Linked DNA regions of Homo sapiens: region 1 is linked to region 2. Evidence: promoter capture Hi-C in human tissues and cell types (Jung and others, 2019). All regions are on one chromosome and are shown on one strand. The core of a region is centred on a gene start or on the middle of the fragment in contact, and the rest is flanking DNA. Distances in the headings are between cores, read along the strand shown.

What was found. Contacts are between HindIII fragments. The study calls those that stand out against the background at their distance.
Region 1: a fragment that was not itself captured here is called in contact with the fragment with the promoter of ATP9A in region 2 in 1 of the 25 tissues and cell types used here (heart right ventricle).

What each region holds. Positions count from the first base shown.
Region 1 is chr20:52,126,993-52,132,576 of GRCh38, forward strand. It overlaps a transcript of ZFP64 not described here. Among named protein-coding and RNA genes, the nearest start is that of ZFP64, 62 kb to the right of the region's middle. The HindIII fragment of the contact is 3,788 bases long and covers 731-4,518 here.
Region 2 is chr20:51,764,348-51,769,825 of GRCh38, forward strand. It overlaps ATP9A (ATPase phospholipid transporting 9A (putative)), which reads right to left and starts at 4,043. Exons shown (of 28, transcript NM_006045.3): 1 at 3,955-4,043. The coding sequence starts at 4,022. The HindIII fragment of the contact is 32,964 bases long and covers 1-5,478 here.

The sequences.
Region 1 (5,584 bases), core at 1,375-3,874, 360 kb after region 2:
CTAGGCTGGAGTGCAGTGGTGTGATCTCAGCTCACTGCAACCTCCACTTCCCAGGTTCAAGCAATTCTCCTGCCTCAGCCTTCTGAGTAGCTGGGACTACAGGCGTGCGCCACCACACCCAGCTAATTTTTGTATTTTTAGTAGAGACGGGGTTTCACCATGTTGGCCAGGCTGGTCTCAATCTCCTGACCTCATGATCCGCCGGCCTCGGCCTCCCAAAGTGCTGGGATTACAGTTGTGAGCCACCACGCCTGGCCCAGAATTTTTTTTTTAAAGGAAGTGATACGGTTAGAAATTTTTTCTTTTAAAGGGAAGATTTTTTTTTTTAAAGGAAGTGATATGGTTAGGCTTTGTGTTCCCACCCAAATCTCATCTTGAATTATGATTCCCATAATCCCCACGTGTCAAGGGAGAGACCAGGTAAAGGTAATTGGATCATGGGGGCGGCTGCTGTTCTCATGATAGTGAGTTCTCACAAGAGCTGACGGTTTTATCAGGGGCTCTTCCCCTTTCACTCGGCACTTCTCTTTCCTGCCTCTTTGTGAAGAAGGTGCCTTGCTTCCCCTTTGCCTTCTGCCATGACTGTAACTTTCCTGAGGCCTCCCCAGCCATGCTGAACTGTGAGTTGATTAAACCTTTTTCCATTATAAATTACTCAGTCTCACACAATTCTTTACAGCAGTATGAAAATGGATTAATACAGGAAGCAAGACAAGAAGACAGGATGGGAAGAAATTTTACAAAGACAAATCCTTTTTTTCACCATACTTGTGTTGAGAGTGACTTTAAAGCAGTATTGTAGTGAAAACGTGATTTTCACTTATCCAGATATTGAACACTGTCTACAGCAACTCAGTAGGAAATAATAAGTTGAGGATATTCACTGGTAGTCTACTACTGTGTAAGACAGTTTTTGCTATACAACGACCTCAAAATCTCAGTGGTTTTCCACACAAATGTTTATTTATTTTTTTCCCGGGTCTGTGGGTTCACTGTGGCTCTGTGGAGCTTGGCTCTGGGCTGTGGTTTGGATTGAGGTGTGTTCCATGTGTCTGTTCATTTCTGTTTAGGCCATCAGTTACTCAGAATCTGTTCTAAGGCAGATCACTCCAGAGCAAGAGGTTGTGTCAAATTCTACAGCCACATTGAAAGCCCCTGTTCCTGGACTAGATGTGGTGGCTCACGCCTCTAATCACAGCACTTTGGGAGGCCAAGGCAGGAGGATTGTTTGAGGCCAAGAGTTTGAGACCAGCCTGGGCAACATAGCAAGACTCTCTCTATAAATAATAATAATAATACCCCTGTTCCCATCAGGTCCACTGATATTCCATTGGCCAAAGCAAGTCAAATGGCTTTGCCCCATTATGGTGGTGCCCCACCCACCATAATGTCAATGGACAAGGTGGGTAAATATTCTGTAGCTGGAGAAAGGACAGAATTTGAGACCATTATCTAGCCTACCATAGCAACTAACCTGAAAACAGGAATAAAATCATACAGCTGGGATGAGAACAGATTGATAAAGATGGACACATTTACAGTATTAATAAATGTATACCTAAACTGCTAGGTGGAAAAAGCAAACTGATCTGCTTTGTGGCACCTAACTTGTTATTCTTGGAAAACTGACCTGAGGGAGGTGAAATTCTATACTGCCTTGTGTTGAGTTGCTGCACTCCACCACTGGAGGGCAGCATTAGTCACCATTTTACTAAAGCTTCTGAGCTTGGTCTTCCGTCAGTAACAAGGGCTGATTTCCACCTGGTCTCCCACAGTCTTTACCACTTTCAAAAGTGCCCCAGCTTGGATGATAAACTACACGATCGTCTTATATACATGGTATAACTGTGGCATTTCTTTTCCAGAAATGAACAAAATTTCCAGAAGCTAACACTCCACAAGGAGCTCCGACCTTTTTTTAAATTTTCTTTCTTTTTCTGAGACGGAGTCTCATTCTGTCACCCAGGCTGGAGTGCAGTGGCACGATCTGGGCTCACTGCTACCTCCGCCTCCCAGGTTCAAGCCATTTTCCTGCCTCAGCCTCCCGAGTAGTTGGGATTACAGGCGCGCACCACCACTCCTGGCTAATTTTTTTTTTTTTTTTCTTGAGATGGAGTCTCGCTCTGTTGCCCAGGCTGGAGAGCAGTGGCGCGATCTCGGCTCACTGCAAGCTCCGCCTCCCGGGTTCACGCCGTTCTCCCGCCTCAGCTTCCCAAGTAGCTGGGACTACAGGCGCCCACCACCACGCCCGGTGAATTTTTTTTCTTTTTTTCTTTTTTTTTTTGTATTTTTAGTAGAGATGGGGTTTCACCGTGTTAGCCAGGGTGGAATTTTTTTGTATTTTTAGTAGAGATGGGGTTTTGCTATGTTGCCCAGGCTGGTCTCTTAACTCCTGAGCTCAGGCAGTCTGCCTGCCTGGGCCTCCCAAAATGCTAGGATTACAGGTGTGAGCCACCGTACCCAGCCGCTCCAGCCTTTTTTATTTGCCTTTTTCCTTCTAGCAAAAATGTTCCAATTACAAATACCCTCTGTCTTTCCAGACTGCCCTAACGTCCAGTGCACCTTAGAATGCTCATTTCCCTCACTCCTCCGTTCTTTGTCTTCAATTGTGTAACTCCTATGTAGCATTTTGACTCAGCTCAGGTGCTGGTCACCCCGGCCCTGGCCCATTTCAGCCTCTTGGACCTAAATCTGGGAAGGCCTGTTCCCAGATGCTCCTCATGGTGCCTGCTTCTGTTCCTCATGGTGCCTCTGTATCCCATTAAAGCACATATGTGTTGTGACAACTCGCCTGTCTGCCTAACTAGACTGTAATCTCCCAGGGGGCAGGGATCCTGCCTGCCCTGTGTCACCACCATGGTATGCCCCGGGGCAATTCATCTTTGCTGAATGAGTGCAATCGTCATTATTGTTTATTATTATAATAAAACATGTCAGACACACAAAAAACTCCTGCTGCCTGCTCCTCTTTCCCTTGCTCACTCTTCCCTGGCCACGTTCCTGCTTTAAGGTTTTTGCATTCCCTTTGCCTGGAACTCTGTTCCTCTCGAGATCCACATGGCTCCCTCACTCCCTCATTCCAGTCTTTGTTCCAATCTCAACTTCTTAGGGAGAACTACTCTGACCCGCAGGCTCCTCTCCCTCATCATACTCAGTCCCTCCACCCTGCCATGGCACTTACCAGCTTCTAAGACACTGTATATGGTGCCTACAATTGTGTTTTGTTTGTTTGTTTGTTTTTGGCAGGATCTTGCTCTATCACCTAGGCTGGAGTGCAGTGGCACAATCATGGCTCACTGCAGCCTCAAGTGCCCAGGCTCAAGTGATCCTCCCACCTCAGCCTCCAAAGTAGCTGAGACTACAGGAATGTTCCACCATACCCGACTAATCTTTTTATTTTTTGTAGAGAGGGGGTCTCCTTATGTTGTCCACTCTGGTCTTGAACTCCTAGCCTCAAGCGATGCTCCTGCCTCGGCCTCCCAAAGTGCTGGGATTACAGATATGAGCCACTGCACCCCGTCCATTCTGCTTATTATTTATCTGTTTTCTCTTATGAGAAGGCAGATTCCATAAGGTCACGATCATTTCCTTTTTGCTCATGGAAACTTCACATGTTTCCAGAACAACATCTAGCCTATAGTAGGTGTTCAGGAAACATTTATCAAACTTCTTAGGGCTGATGGCCATGTGACACCAGGCAGGCTCTTGCAATCTCTAGCCCCTAGTTGTTTATCTTAGTATTTTCCACATTACTCAGATCAGAACACTCTCCAGGGTGCCAAATTTAAAATACAGATTCTCGGCCCAGTGTGGTGGCTCATGCCTGTAATCTCAGCACTTTGGGAGGCTGAGGCGGGTAGATCACGAGCTCAGGAGATTGAGACCATCCTGGTGAAACACCATCTCTACTAAAAATACAAAAAATTAGCCAGGCATTGTGGCGGGCGCCTGTAGTCCCAGCTACTCAGGAGGCTGAAGCAGGAGTATGGCGTGAACCTGGGAGGCAGAGCTTGCAGTGAGCCAAGATTGGGCCACTGCACTCCAGCCTGGGCGACAGAGCAAGACTCTGTCTCAAAAATAAGAATAATAATAAAATAAAATACAGATTCTCATCTTCATTAAAGGAAGGGAGGAAGACAGGAAGAAAGGAAAACAGGAAGGAAGGAAAGGAGGGAAGGAAAGAAAAGAAAGGGAGGAGGGAAGGAAAGGAAAGAAGAAAAAGAAGAAAGGAAAAGAAGGAAGGACGGGAAGGAAGGAAGAAAAAGAAAAAGGAAAAGAGAGAGAAGAAAGAAAAGAAAGAAAGCAAGAAAAGAAGAAAGAAAAGCAGGCCACAAAACAAGCAGAAAACAAATAAAATGGCAGGAGCAAGTCCTTACTTAACAATAATATAACATTGAATGTAAATGAACTAAAGTCTCCAATCAAAAGACATGGAATGGTTGAATAGATTAAAAAACAAGACCCACTGATCTGCTGCCTACAAGAAACACACTTCCCCTAAACACACATAGGCTAAAAATAAAGGGATGAAAAAGATATTCTATGCCAATGGAAACCAAAAAAGAGCAGGGGTAGCTATACTTAAATCAGACAAAATACATTTCAAGACAAAAACTATAAGAAAAGCAGGTCACTATATATAATGTTTATAAAGGGGTGAATTCAGCAAAAAGATATCGCAGTTTTAAATATATATGCATCCAACTCTGGAGCACCCAGATATATAAAAGAAACATTATTACAGCTAAAGAGAGAGTTAGGCCCTAATACAATAATAGCTGGAGACTTCAACACCCCACTTTCAGCATTTGCCAGATCTTCCCGACAGAAAATCAACAAAGAAACATCGGACTTAATCTGCACTATAGACTAAATGGATCTAGTAGATATTTACAGAACATTTCATCCTATGGCTGCAGAATACACATTCTTTTCCTCAGCACATGGATCATTCTCAAGTATAGACCATATGTTAGGTCACAAAACAAGTCTTAAAATGTTGAAAAAAAACTGATGTAATATCAATCATCTTCTCTGACCACAATGGGACAAAACTAGAAATTAATAACAAGAGGAATTTTGGAAACTATACAAATACCTGGAAATTAAACAACATGCTCCTGAATGACCAATGGGTCAATGAAGAAATTAAGAAGAAAATTTAAAATTTCTGAGACAAATGATAATGGAAATACAACATACCCAAATCTGTGGAATACAGCAAAAGCAGCATTAAAAGGAAAGTTTATAACTATAAGAGTTTACATAAAAAGGAGAAAAAACTTCAAATAAACAATCTAATGATGGATCTTAAAGAACTAGAAAAGCAAAAACAAACCAAACCCAAAATTAGTAGAAGAAATAAGAAAGATCAGAGCAGAAATAGATGAAATTGAAATGAAAACATAATACAAAAGGTCAATGAAAAAAAGCTGTTTTTTTAAAAGTTAAACAAAATTTACAAACCTTTACCCAGACTAAGAAAAAAAAGGGAAGATACAAATAAATAAAATCGGAAATGAAAAAAGGAGGTATTACAGCTGATTCTGCAGAAATTCAAAGGATCATTAGTGGCTACTATGAG
Region 2 (5,478 bases), core at 2,793-5,292:
AATGGTTTCCAGCAATGGAGGTGAAATGCCTTGTTTCCTAACTACACCATTTCAAAAGTTTTCTCAACATCAGGATGTGGTAACTTTCTCAAGAGAGAAAAGAACTTTGAAGCCAGGAGATTCCTCCAAAAATAAGCTGCACGTCTTCGCAACATTCGCTGAGTGACCCCAGAAATAACTGCATTCTGTCCCCTATGACATGTGGCATCGTTTTTGGTTTTTTTAACCACAAATCTTCCAACCATTCCACAGCTTTATTGCCTAGAACCATTAGGTGAAATGGGTGGATCCGGTTCAAAACTGCCTCCTCTCACAACCTCCAAGACCACGAACACATTAATATCAGTGAATCTTTGTTTCCCTGTCAATAAAATGGGAGAATTTTTTTTTTTGAGATGGAGTCTTGCTTCTTCACCCAGGCTGGAGTGCAGTGGTACAATCCTGACTCACCGCAACCTCCACATCCTGGGTTCAAGCAATTCTCCTGCCTCAGCCTCCCCAGTAGCTGGAATTACAGGCACCACCACCACACCCGGCTAATTTTTGTATTTTTAGTAGAGACAGGGTTTCACCATGTTGGCCAGGCTGGTCTCGAACTCCTGACCTCGAGTGATCCGCCCACCTTGGCCTCCCAAAGTGCTGGGATTACAGGCTTGAACCACCACATCTGGCCCCTAAAATGGGAGAATTAACTCCAAAAACTCACATGGTTGTTGTAAGGATTAAAACAGCCCTATTTATCTCAAGTGTCCAGCAGACAGCCTGACCCATTACATATTACTTTTTTCTTCCTTTAACCACCCACCCACTTTAGCCCTCACGCTGCCATCCCCCAGCCCCTAGTTCTATTTCAGGAAGCTCCTCCATCTCTCTGTGCTTCTCAAGAGTTTCTAAACTTCAGGATTCCACCTTGATGTTGCTACTCCTGAAAATGCAGATTATATACAAGAGCATTTACGCAAATGCACAGCAACCCTGATACACAATTTGAATCCAAATCCATGTCACTGTTTAAGAAATAGATTGGCCAGACACAGTGGCTCACATCTGTAATCACAGCACTTTGGGAGGCCAAGGTGGGTGGATCACCTGAGGTAAGGAGTTCGAGACCAGCCTGACCAACATGGAGAAACCCCATCTGTACTAAAAATACAAAATTTGCCGGGCATGGTGCATGCCTGTAATCCCAGCTACTCAGGAGGCTGATTCAAGGAGAATCGCTTGAACCTGGAATGCGGACGTTGCAGTGAGCCGAGATCGTGCCAGCCTTGGCAACAAGAGTGAAGCTACATCTCAAAAAAAAAAAACAGAATTAGATTAGTTCCAGGCCAAGCACGGTGGCTCACGTCTGTAATCCCAGCACTTTCGGAGGCCAAGGCAGGTGGATCACCTGAGGTCAGGAGTTCAAGACCAGCCTGGCCAACATGGTGAAACAACTCTCTCTACTAAAAATACAAAGATTAGCCGGGAGTGGTAGTGGGCACCTGTAATCCCAGCTACTTGGGAAGCTGAGGCAGAAGAATCGCTTGAACCCAGGAGGCAGAGGTTGCAGTGGGCCAAGACCAAGGCATTGCACTCCAGGCAACAAGAGTGAAACTACATCGTCTCAAAAAAAAAGAAAGATTAGTTCCAAAGCTGGTAAATTCTAAAGGGGCTGTGATGCTCCATTCCAACGCAACCTAGAAAACTTACTTTTAAATAAAATTATCTGCACCACTCCCTCTGGCTCTCCATATGAACGGCTCATGTTTCTATCACGCTAATGATCACTTTTGAACAATATTTGCATTTTTCTTTCATGTACTGACTCAAAAGTTCTCAACTCTGACTGCATGTTAAAATCATCAGGGGAGCTTATTAAAATATATAGATAGAAACCCAGGTCCCACCCTAAATTCTTATTTCAAAGGTCTAGAATGAATCAGAAAAGGCTAGTTAAGTTTCCCTGGTGATTGCAATGAACAGCCAGGGTCAGGACACCCACACCTGTTGGGCAGGTCTTCTTTAATTCATCCTTGCATCCCCATCAGCTGGAGTGGCTCCTGCACATAGTAGGCGTCTCATAATTGCTCATGGCACAAATTAATAACCACTGGATTTTAGACTCCACTGATCATATTAATTCATCACAGTATTTACGGAGGATGTACGATGTACCAGGCACTGTTCCAGGCATAGTGTTCAAGTCAATTGTCATCATTAAAACGAAGGAGGCCGGGCGCGGTGACTCACGCCTGTAATCCCAGCACTTTGGAAGGCCGAGGTGGGTGGATCACGAGGTCAGGAGTTCAAGACAAGCCTGGCCAAGATGGTGAAACCCCCGTCTCTACTAAAAATACAAAAACTAGTCAGGCGTGGTGTCGGGCGCCTGTAATCCCAGCTACTCGGGAGGTTGAGGCAGAGAATTGCTTGAACCCGGGAGGCGGAGGTTGCAGTGAGCCGAGATCTCGCCACAGCACTCCAGCGTGGGCAACAGAGGGAGACTCCGTCTCAATAATAATAATAATACTAATAATAATAAACGCAAAACAGAGAAGGGAGGAGTGAGGGAACTATCTTTGGGTCAGACAATCCGGAGTTCAATCTCCATTTTGCAGTCTTCCCTATAGCCCTTAACCTCCGTAACCTCCAGTTTCCTCCTCTGGGTAATATCAGTGAGGCCTCTTCTTCGGAGGATTCAGGAAGCCAGGGACAAAGACCCCACAAAATGGCCGCCAGCACCATTCTTTTTTTTTTTTTTTTTAATTCCACTGACACCTGGTGAAGCCACCCTTATGGTTCACTCCACCCGCCGCGTCTCCTGTTCCGAGCAACTGACGCTGCAATAAGCGGCCGCCACCGGGAAATGCCCAGAGAGGACCAGACGCCCGAGGAAGGGCGGAGCAGAGCGGCCGCAGGCCCCGCCCAACACCGCGCTCAGCCTCCCGCGGGCTCCAGCCTCACCTGCGCGGCCTGTGGAGCTGCACATCTCCAGGCCCCGCCCCCCAGAACTCTGATTGGCGGGTCTAGGCGGGGGCCGGGAAATCTGCATTTGCACCAGCGCCCACCCCCGTCCTTCCCACCCCCGCCCCTCACGCCCAGGTAAGTCTATGGCAGGCGATACGAGAGCCCCGCAAACCTCAACGCGTCACGCTGCCATCCTCCGAACAGGAAGACGGCGAGGCGCAAAATACCAACCCGTCCCCTCTTCCCAAATGCAGAAAAACCCTTGCCTGTTCCGCGCCTAAGCTGCCCTCGGGGTCTCCTACTGCGGGAAGGGCACAGCAGGTGGCAGCCCCTGTCCCAGCCGTGGGATTCCTTCCCCGAAATTGTGGGGGGAGAACACAAGGGGTAGTGTCACCAAGCGGCCAGTAGGAGACCCTCCCACCCTCCTGCGACTGCTGGTTCGGGTCCACCCCGGGCGGAGGGGGAAGGGGCCACCGGAGCGCAGGTGGTCTCGGCGCAGCCTCCTGGGGCTGGGACCCAGGGGCGCTGATGGGGTACCCCGAGGCGTAGGCCGCGCCCCCCTAAAAGCTGAGCATATCTGGGCTCCCGAGTAATGCTCCAAGCGCAGAGCTCGGTGTGACACTGACCAAATTGTTACCTCAGATATTAATTACGGACAGATATTAATTACGGAACAATAAAACGGTGAGAAAGCACGGCTGATCCGAATTCCGCGAGTGTGTAAACAGCACTGGGGCGGGCCCGGCTTCTCGGGGTTTCTAAAGGAAGGTGGGCAAGGAGGCCCAGGCAACCGGGCGCTCGAACCCCAAAGGGCCGGCATCAGGCTAGGTGCCGCCCGGGGCTGAAGCGCAGGGACCCCCTCCCCACCTCCCCGCCTCCCCAGCCCTGCCCCAGGCTCATGGCGCCGGGCGCGGCGCGCGGCCAACCTGTCAGGCCCGGCCAGGCTGGCCCGAGCGCCGGGCTCCGGGAGGCGCGGACAAAGGAAAACACGGGCCCAGGCCCACTCACCCGGCGCGGGGCCTGCTGTCCATCCGCTTCTTCTGGCGCACCGGCTGCAGCGGGATGTTGTCCGTCATGTCGGCGGCGCCGCCCGCCTTGGCCGCCGCGCCCCCCGCGCCGCCTGGGCCGCCGCCCGGTCCGGCCTCCGCGCCGCCGCCCGCCGGCGCCGCGCCGCCCCGGGGGAGGAGGCGGCGGCAGCGGGCGGGCCGGGCCCGCAGCGAGGGGGCGAGCTCGCGAGCGCCGGGCCACGCGCGGAGCGCCCGCGCGGCCCGACCGACGGACACGGGCGCACCATGGGCCCGAGCTCCGCGCTGCGCCCGCTCGCTCCGCGCCGCGCCGCGCCTGCCACGGGGGGCGGCCGGGCCGTGTCCGCGCCGCCGCGACCGCTGCAGTGTCCCCGCCCCCGGCCCGCGCCCGCGCCCCCCACGCGCGCCCACCCGGCCACGCGCCCCCCGCCCACGCCCGCCGTGCGCGCACCCTGCCACCGCACCCCCCGCAAAATCCCACATTCACAATCACATCCCAGCCCTATACACGCGCGCTGTGACACTCATCCCCACCAATATCTGACATGCACAATCACACGGGCACCCGGCCACGCTCACCCCATCAGTCAGTCATTCTCACTCACTCTTGCACCAACGTGCATATTCACGCCCAGGCCCTACACACACACCTGCCACTGCTCACTGCCTGCAACATCTAACATTCACAATCACATGTGAGTCCTGCACACACACATAACACTCTCACCCTCCTGTTGGTCACCATCATCCATGCACCCAGTTTCTCAAGCCTCACACCCATGTGCCTGCAGAAATCACAGTCACACAGGGACCCTCAGCTTATCAGACTCCTTCACCCTCTGACCTTCACCATCCTCACCCTCATTCTCTATCTGGATTCTGGGAACTCACCATGACACACACGCACCTGCCTCTTTCATCCAAACACCCTTCAATAGTCTGAACACCCTCATTCTCACACCAGCCACTTTCTTGGGCTTGCACATGGGCCCCACTCTCAGGCCTCAGACAGTCACCCTGCATTACCTGTCACTGTGATTCACGGTCTCACACACACACCTATCTCCACCGCAGCCCACATCCACACTCACTTCCACACCCTCCCACACAGTGTCTGGGACCCATGAACTTTTCAAAGGCCTGATAAAGTTATGAGAGCAGGAAAAAAAAAACAGAGGGAAGGAACAAAGTGAGGGAGTTTAAAAATCAATATGTAACTAAAGAGCCTGAAATTGTAATAATACCATATAAACTAATCTAAAGCTGACTTTTACATAGTTACATCTAATGACTGATCATGTTGGACGCCGTTTCTTTTTTTTCTTTTTGAAACAGAATCTCCCTCTGTCGCCCAGGCTGGAGTGCAGTGGCAAAATCTCAGCTCACTGCAATCTCTGCCTCCCAGGTTGAAGCAATTCTCCTGCCTCAGCTACCCGGGTAGCTGGGGTTATACATGTGCCTGGCTAATTTTTGTAGTTTTAGTAGAGATGGGGTTTCACCATGTTGG